3 separate regions of the Homo sapiens genome follow, and regions 1 and 3 are each linked to region 2. The links are contacts of gene promoters, found by promoter capture Hi-C in blood cells and fetal thymus (Javierre and others, 2016). All regions are on one chromosome and are shown on one strand. The core of a region is centred on a gene start or on the middle of the fragment in contact, and the rest is flanking DNA. Distances in the headings are between cores, read along the strand shown.

What was found. Contacts are between HindIII fragments. The CHiCAGO score rates a contact against its expected background, and 5 or more counts as called.
Region 1: a contact is called between a fragment that was not itself captured here and the fragment with the promoter of FBXL3 in region 2, in 1 of 17 cell types (naive B cells). The highest score is 5.0, in naive B cells.
Region 3: a contact is called between a fragment that was not itself captured here and the fragment with the promoter of FBXL3 in region 2, in 2 of 17 cell types (total B cells and naive B cells). The highest score is 6.0, in total B cells.

The regions. Positions count from the first base shown.
Region 1 is chr13:77,474,875-77,477,744 of GRCh38, forward strand. No RefSeq gene overlaps it. Among named protein-coding and RNA genes, the nearest start is that of SCEL, 59 kb to the right of the region's middle. The HindIII fragment of the contact is 689 bases long and covers 1,219-1,907 here.
Region 2 is chr13:77,025,759-77,028,458 of GRCh38, forward strand. It overlaps FBXL3 (F-box and leucine rich repeat protein 3), which reads right to left and starts at 1,401. Exons shown (of 5, transcript NM_012158.4): 1 at 1,069-1,401. RefSeq lists silencers at 942-1,001, 1,022-1,301, 1,472-1,521. The HindIII fragment of the contact is 14,791 bases long and covers 1,368-2,700 here.
Region 3 is chr13:77,287,048-77,289,747 of GRCh38, forward strand. It overlaps MYCBP2 (MYC binding protein 2), which reads right to left. Exons shown (of 83, transcript NM_015057.5): 3 at 1,114-1,329. The region is part of intron 2 of LOC124903184 (a long non-coding RNA gene); the gene reads left to right. Among named protein-coding and RNA genes, the nearest start is that of MYCBP2, 39 kb to the right of the region's middle. The HindIII fragment of the contact is 495 bases long and covers 1,121-1,615 here.

The DNA of each region.
Region 1 (2,870 bases), core at 313-2,812, 450 kb after region 2:
TGCACCCCAGCGGGTTGCCACTAGTGGCACAAGCAGCCTGCTTTTATTCTCTTATCTGGCCCCACCCACATCCTGCTGATTGGTCCATTTTACAGAGAGCTGATTGGTCCATTTTACAGAGAGCTGATTGGTCCGTTTTGACAGGATGCTGATTGGTGCGTTTACAATCCCTGAGCTAGACGCAAAAGTTCTCCACGTCCCCACTAAATTAGCTAGATACAGAGTGCCCACACAAAGGTTCTCAAAGTCCCCACCAGAGTAGCTAGATACAGAGTGTCGATTGGTGCATTCACAAACCCTGAGCTAGACACAGGGTGCTGATTGGTGTGTTTACAAACCTTGAGCTAGATACAGAGTGCCAATTGGTGTATTTACAATCCCTTAGCTGGACATAAAGGTTCTCCAAGTCCCCACCAGGGTAGCTAGATACAGAGTGTGGACTGGTGCCTTCACAAACCCTGAGCTAGACACAGGGTACTGATTGGTGTATTTACAATCCCTTATCTAGACATAAAGGTTCTCCAAGTCCCCACCAGACTCAGGAGCCCGGCTGGCTTCACCCAGTGGATCCCGCACAGGGGCCGCATGTGGAGCTGCCTATCAGTCCCAGGCCGTGCGCCGGCACTCCTCAGCCCTTGGGTGGTGGATGGGACTGGGCGCTGTGGAACAGGGGGCGGCGCTCCTCGGGGAGGCTCGGGCCGCGCAGGAGCCCACGAAGTGCGGGGGAGGCTCAGGCATGGCGGCGGGCTGCAGGTCTCCAGCCCTGCCCGGCGGGAAGGCATCTAAGGCCCGGCGAGAAATTCAGCACAGCAGCTACTGGCCCAGGTGCTAAGCCTCTCACTGCCCCGGCCCGCTGGCCGGCGGGCAGCTCCGAGTGCAGGGCCTCCCGAGCCCACGCCCACCCGGAACTCGCGCTGGCCCACAAGCACCGCGTGCAGCCCCGGTTCCCGCCCCCACCTTTCCCTCCACACCTCCCGGCAAGCTGAGGGAGCCGCCTCCGGCCTTGGCCAGCCCAGAAAGTGGCTCCCACAGTGCAGCAGCGGGTTGAAGGGCTCCTCAAGCGCGGCCAGAGTGGGCGCCAAGGCTGAGGAGGCGCCAAGAGCGAGCAAGGGCTGTGAGGGCTGCCAGCATGCTGTTACCTCTCACTGGGATTACAGGCATGAGCCACCGCGCCCGGCCTGAGGTAAGTTTTAGAGCAGGAGTGAAAGTTTATTAAAAAGCTTTAGAGGAGAAACAAAAGAAAGTAAAGGACACTTGGAAGAGAGCCAAGTGGGCAACATGAGAGATCAAGCGTGTGGTTGACTTTTGACTTAGGTTTTTATATGTTGGCACACTTCCAGCGTCTTGTGTCCCTTCTCACATGATTCTTCCCTTAGGGAAGGCTGTTGGCATGCGCAGTGGCCTGCTAGCGCTTGGGAGGTGAGCATGCACGGTGTGTTTACTGGAGTTATATGCATGCTTACTTGAGGCATTCTTCCCTTAGCAGTTGATTGCCCCTAGAACCCTAGAGGGTCATATACCAGTTAAACTCCACCATTTTGCTTCTTAATGCACATGCTTGAGCCCACTTACCCAGCCCCTGAGATCTTACTGAGAAGCTACTGATCACCAGTTCCAGGTTTTTTCTTTATATTGGAAGACTGCCTTTCCCTGGCACTGGCTGCAACCAATTATTATTTTAGAGAGACAGTTAACAACCACCTGACCATCACCTAATGATCACCTGACATTACTGGTTGGTAGGTGGGGAGCCCTCTCCTGCTCTGCTCATGCCTGACTAGCTACCTATGTAACATGACCACACTCTTTAGGAATGTACAATAATTATAATATGAAATGGTCAGGGCCATCTGTAAGGTAGTTAGAAACCATGAGGGTACACATCTCTCTTCTGGGAAGAGTAAGGAAGCTTCAGAGAGAAATTCCTAGAATCTATTCCACTGCACATTTTGACAGGGCCCCAAAGCATCCCAGACTTGCAGGCACTTTAGAATCAGAACTTTTACCCTTGCATATGACTGATTTATTTTACAATGTGTCCTGGAAGTAAGATAGTATAGTCTAGGTTCTTTCCCTGCAGTAACTGGACCAGGTATACAAAACCTCTTTGGTACTCAGAACCATTATAGCTTATGAAGACTTCTTCAGGAATATTAGAATTGCTAATTCGGGTTCTCTTGTCTCTTACAGTAAGTAGAATGACCCCAGTGAATCCAAGTGGCCAAATATTTTAGGCTTGTCTGATTCTACTGCTTCCATGCAAATCTTGTATGGAAGTGGGGGAAAAAGGCAAATCCAGGGTCACACAGATTATTAGAAAAGAGGTTAGAATAAAATGTGGTCACAAAAATCCTCATCGGATTCTTACAGTAGATCATATGATTTGCTTTTCTGTGTGCCTATATGAAAAATATGTACTTATTGACAAAAATATATGAGTAAATATGTTCAATAAATCAATCGCAGCTATGTTTTAGATAGATGATTGGAGAAACTGTCATGGACCTAAGAATCACACTTTTTCTCTTTACTGTCAACAAGTTAGGATGAATCATTTTACTCTGAAGAATAAGGATATGGTTATTTCTCATCATCGTTCAAGCTTGAGTGTGTTCAAGCTTGAGTGTGTCTAAGAGCCTTTTCCTTCAAGGAGCCAGCATGCCATCCACGGAACTCACAACACTGGTTGCCAGAGTTCTCTGCTTTAGAAAATAAAAGTGGGTTGGCTATGACTTCTGTGCTTATTCACTACACCTATGCCTAGAGTCCCTAAAGATTCTTTGGTTGCTTTTGACAATTGCAAATTGTATCTACAGCCACATTTCCATAGTCAATTCAGTGGTAGCTGATTTGAGAACTGCTTCTTGATG
Region 2 (2,700 bases), core at 151-2,650:
TAGCCGTGTGCATCGTTGTATTAGGCACTTTTACACTGGGCATGCAATAATTTTAAATGCTCATTTGTAGTTAACTCTAAAAAGCCTATTTTGGCATCACAGTTCCTTTCTGTTCTGCTTTTACTAATATCAAACTAATATGCATTCTTTGGCTGAACTACAAGAATAAAACACTATAAAGAGGTTAACTCACAACTAAATGCTTAGAGAGCGCACAGTGGCGAAAATCTGTCTACAGGTCATATAGATAGATAGATAACTGATAGTTGATGGTATTTTTATAAATATTTCAGAGATAACAGAAACTAAGTTACTTTTTTTTCAAGTTAGAAAAGGAGGATTCTAATTAAAAAATCTGGGTCACTCAACTGGATATCATTAGCAACGACAAAATAAAAATGATCTCTCTCACCTCTCAGCTTGGAGATACAGACCATTTACTGGGCTGCTTCCTGACCCCTGTCTGCAACCCCACCTAAAGGACTGCCCACGCCAAAGGCAGACGCGAATCCGCTCAACACAAGTTGACCAAGTTTTTCGCCTGGCTAAGCGGCAGGGGCGTCCCCTCCTCCCTGCGCCACCTCCCCACCGACTGGCTTCCCCTGACATTTCTCATGCGCCCCACCCTGGGCAGTTTGCTTTGACATTTCAGTGCCTCATTGCTCAAGCTACCAGCACGGGCGTAGCCGACGCCGGGAGAGCCCACAGAGTGCGAGCTCCATGGTGCCTGTCACCAGCCCCCGCCAAGGGTCATAAAGCCTGGCAGGAGCCGCGGCGAACCCGGGAGCGGCGGCGTCGCGGGCAGGCTGCAGGCGGCCGCCGCACACGCACCACGCCTTGTTGACATGTTTGGAAGCAGGCACGGCGGGGAAACGCCCCCAAGCAAGCTCCAAGGTCTGGGTGCCGCGCCCCGCGCCCCGCCCGGCACTCCTGAGGAGCGGCCCGCGCGCGCCCCGGCCCCCGCGCCCCCCCCCACCCCACCCCACCCCGGCCCGCCCACAGACGGTCCGCGGTCCCTCCCCGGCTCCGCCGTCGCAGCGGGGCTCGGCCCTGCCCCTCCGCCGTTACCTGCTGCCGGGGGCGGCTTCCCCCACACACCACCCCGTGCTCCGGGGACGGCGGCGGCTGCAGGTCCCGCGGCTCTCACATGAGGCGCCCCTGGCCCCCCGCTTCGCGCTCCCGCAGCCGCGGCCCCCCGCGCTCCGCCCGCATCCGAGGCGCTGGTCCCGCGGAGGGCGCCAACGCGGCTCCACCTTTGCGGCTCTGGCTGCCCAGAAAGAAGCTTTCCTTCTCAGTCCCGCGCTGTCTGTGTTCAGGGATCCCCGGCGCCGCGAGAGACTACCTCAGCGAGCGGCTGCCACCGCGTAAGCTTCCTGCACCTGGGCCACAAACAGCGAGTCTAAAATGGCGCCCAGGGCTCGCGGCCGCGCGCTTCCCTGGCGCGTCCCCGCCCAAGGGGGCGGGAAGGGGGCGGGGGGGGGGCGGAGCCCGGCGGGAGTAGGGCCGCGCCCAAGCGGGAGCGCGCGCTGCGGCCGCCCCAGTCTCCTTGCTGTGGGACGAGCCTCTGCCTTCCTGCCAGAGATGTGACTCCCGCTTGAAGGGGATTTTTTTTGTTGTTTTGAGATGGAATGTGGGAGGGCTGAAGCTAGCTATATGTGGAAGAGACTATCTGTGGCTGAAACTGGAAGGTTTAGGGAGGTGGAGCAGAAAAAAGAAAGGAAGGAGTCTCGCCGGAGCCTGCTGGGGACCGCGGCCCGCGGGTGGCCGCCCCGGATGCCTGAAACCGAGGAGTTAAATACAGTCTCCGAAGACCCGCGCATCGATGTGCATAAGTGGTGCTTAAAAGATGCCAAGGAAATGTACCAGAATAGTGAGAGTATTAACGCTGGGATTGCACATGGTTTTTGTTTTTCAAATATTTGTATTTCCCAATATTTCTAAAGTGGCTTTTATCATTAGAGTTATTACATTTTAAAAACGACATTTGCTTTATGAAATAGAGTCCTGAAATTTGTAAATAGCTTTTGAAACGCAATGGGGAAAGTAAAGGATTACAAAGCTGCTGAAAAGAAAACCTCTGGTGAATCCTTTTGTAAATCAAGGCATCTTTGTAACTGCTACCTAGTTGACTTGTTTTAAAGTTTGGATTTTTTGATACTGCGTTTTCTTACAGTTAGAAACATTCTTAGGTGCAATATCATTAAGTTGAATCATGCGCCATTCCTCTCTACACCTCCAAAAAAAAAGAGAGAAAGTAGTTTTCCATTCAAAGATGTCTTAGAACACTCAGACCCATGTATAAGACACTGAAAAGCAGTGGTGCCCAGGGAGCTCTCCGTTCTTCCCGTTTTCTCAAGAAATTGAGCTAGGAAGCCATGTATAAAGTTACGTCGAAGTTCAGTGTGAGGCCAGGAGTGGTACAGGCTTATGTCTGTAATCCCAACATTTTGGGAAGCCAAGGCAGAAGGGTTGCTTGTGGTCAAGAATTGGAGACCAGCCTGCGCAATATGTCCAGACTCTTGTCTCTACAAAAAAATAGAAGAGTAATAATTTTAAAAAATCAGACGAGCTTGGTGTAATCCCGGCTACTACTCAGGAGGCTGAATCGAGAGGATGGCTGGAGCCCAGGAGTAGGAGGTTACAGTGACCTATGATGTCACCACTGCACTTCAGTCTGGGTGAGAGAGTGAGACTGTTTCT
Region 3 (2,700 bases), core at 118-2,617, 260 kb after region 2:
CTAAGTTTTTTTTGTGTTTTTAGTACAGACGGGGTTTCACCGTGTTAGCCAGGATGGTCTCGATCTCCTGACCTCGTGATCCGCCCGCCTTGGCCTCCCAAAGAGCTGGGATTACAGGCGTGAGCCATTACGCCCAGCCAGTTTCTTTTTTTTTTTTTGAGACAGTCTCACTCTGTCACCCAGGCCGGAGTGCAATGGCATGATCTCGGCTCACTGCAACCTCCGCCTCCTGGGTTCAAGCAATTTTCCTGCCTCAGCCTCTGAGTAGCTGGGATTATAGGCGACTGCCACAATGCCGGGCTAATTTTTGTATTTTTAGTAGAGACAGGGTTTCACCATGTTGGCCAGGCTGTTCTCAAACTCCTGACCTCAGGTGATCCACCCGCCTTGGCCTCCCAAAGTGCTGGGATTACAGGTGTGAGAGCCACTGCGCCCGGCCTACAATACATGCTTCTATTATAGAAATACCAACTAGTTTATATGCTCCTGGTAAATAAGGGAGTAATATCAGAATAATGCAGAAGTTCAGTTGGTTCATAGGTGATTTTTTTTTTTCCTAATCAAGGGAAACCACAATATCAAGAGTACAATTATAAGCTTAGGCAGAAAGGAAAAGGCTCTCAGCCCTGCTACTACACAGCTGAGAGGCTTTGTAGTTCTATTTCAAGAAAAATAAAAACGCATACCTGCATCCCAGGTGAGGAGCACCTCCCAGCTTTCCAGGGCTCTTGGCTTTCTCTTGTGCCCACCTTACTCTCGGCTCACTGGCTCAGAGCTCTACTTCCATCTGCCATGGCTCAATGCCTCTATACTAGCATTTCCACCCTACTGCTTTTGTACATTTTTTAATTGCCCCTATAACAGACTCCAACCCACTGATCTCCCTTCCTGCGCTTTCCAGTGAATTATCAATTATTGACTTTGTTAGCACCTTAGTTATAAAGTTGCAGAGTTTTCCTTTTCTGCTCCAAATCTATTTTTGCCCATAAGCCGTGTTATTTTTAGTGTGCAATTTTACATAAAGCAAAGTATTTTAGCAATGCGTATATATGCATTATAGCCAGAACACCTGCAGGTTACACATCTAAATATTAATAGAACTCAGTGGCTTACCTTTGGAAGCTTGATAGGGGGCTCTTTGGATTCCTCTTCTTCATCACTATCTGATTCTCCACTCTGCACAGAGTTCTTAGATGCGGCTGCCAATGATATTTCCTTTTTCTGCCATTCCAGAACGCAATGGCGTACATTACAGTAAATATTGAAAGCAGAAGGATTGCTATGTAGTTTGATATCTGGTATGATTACTGTATTCTCTAAGTTTTCAGACTGAAATACAAAACAGAATATTTCCATTTCACACTCTTTTCTATCATCAAGTCCCATTTTACATAAAAGTAAAGATTAGACACACTAACTGACTTGCAGAAGACACATTATGTGACACAGCAGAGACAGTCTAAGTCTATGGACCCAACTTCTAGTCCCCTTTTCTATACCTCACTATTTTTTGAGCAATGCAGCAATAACCAACCAATCTGACAAGGGCTGGAAAAGGATGGGCAAAAAACTTAGAAATATTCTTGTATCGCCATGACAGGAATAGACTCAACAAAGCTTAACTCTTAGAGTTCTGTATCAAAGGAAATTCATTTTACGACTTCCTAAGAGACTCTAGACACACTGTAGAGTCTCAATGACCTACTACAAACATTAGATTGCATTTTGAATGCTTTTAAAAGTAGATATAGAAGTTTACACAGAAATGAGGGCCTCCCAAAAAAACACTTAATTTTCATCAGCTCATTTCATTCTCATTCAAGTAACAGTAATGCCAAGTAAACTGTAGATGCTTCCCTAAGCTCTCTCTCACCTATCAGTATTGATAAAGGCTAAAAATCATGTGATTGGTAATTTGTTAAGACTAAACAGTTTCTCTTTTATGCCCAATATTTTATTCATCAGACAGCAACTACAATTTCAAGATCAACATTTATATTATAAATATAAAAAGCTGTTTTAAAATATTTTAGAAATTCAACTTCCAATAATTAGAGTATGTCCAGGAAGTATCTAAGATAAACAAAATGATACCTCAAGTACCAAAAACACTTGGTCCCAAATATTCGACTCTTCTTCCATAAAGAATTGGAAAAAAAAAATACACTTGTTAAATAAGAAATACATCAAAAAGTTAAATTGGCATGGCATATAACTTATGAATATATGTATAAGAGATATTACAAATATCTCATCCAAATATCCAGAGATATTACAAGTATTAGCTATTCAAATCCAACAATATATAAAAAAGTAATACATTATGACCAACTGAGGTTTAACCCAGGGACAATGCTGGCACAACACTGGAAAAGCAACCACTGTTGTAACAGAGAAAAAATATATTATACTTCAAATAAACACAGAAAGATCACTTGACAAAAATCCAGTATCGATTCATGATAGAAAAAAAAAAAGTCTAAGTTAGGAATAGAAGGGAATTTTCTCAACTTGATAAAGGGTATCTACAAAATAACCACAGCTAACATGGTAATAGACTGAATGCTTTCCCTCTAAGATTGTGATCCAGGCAAATTGGTCTACTCTCAGCAACTCATCAACATTGTACTGGATATCCTATCTAGTGCAAGGAAAATATCCTATCCAGCCAAGGGAAAAAGGCAAGAAGTATTTTCTAAA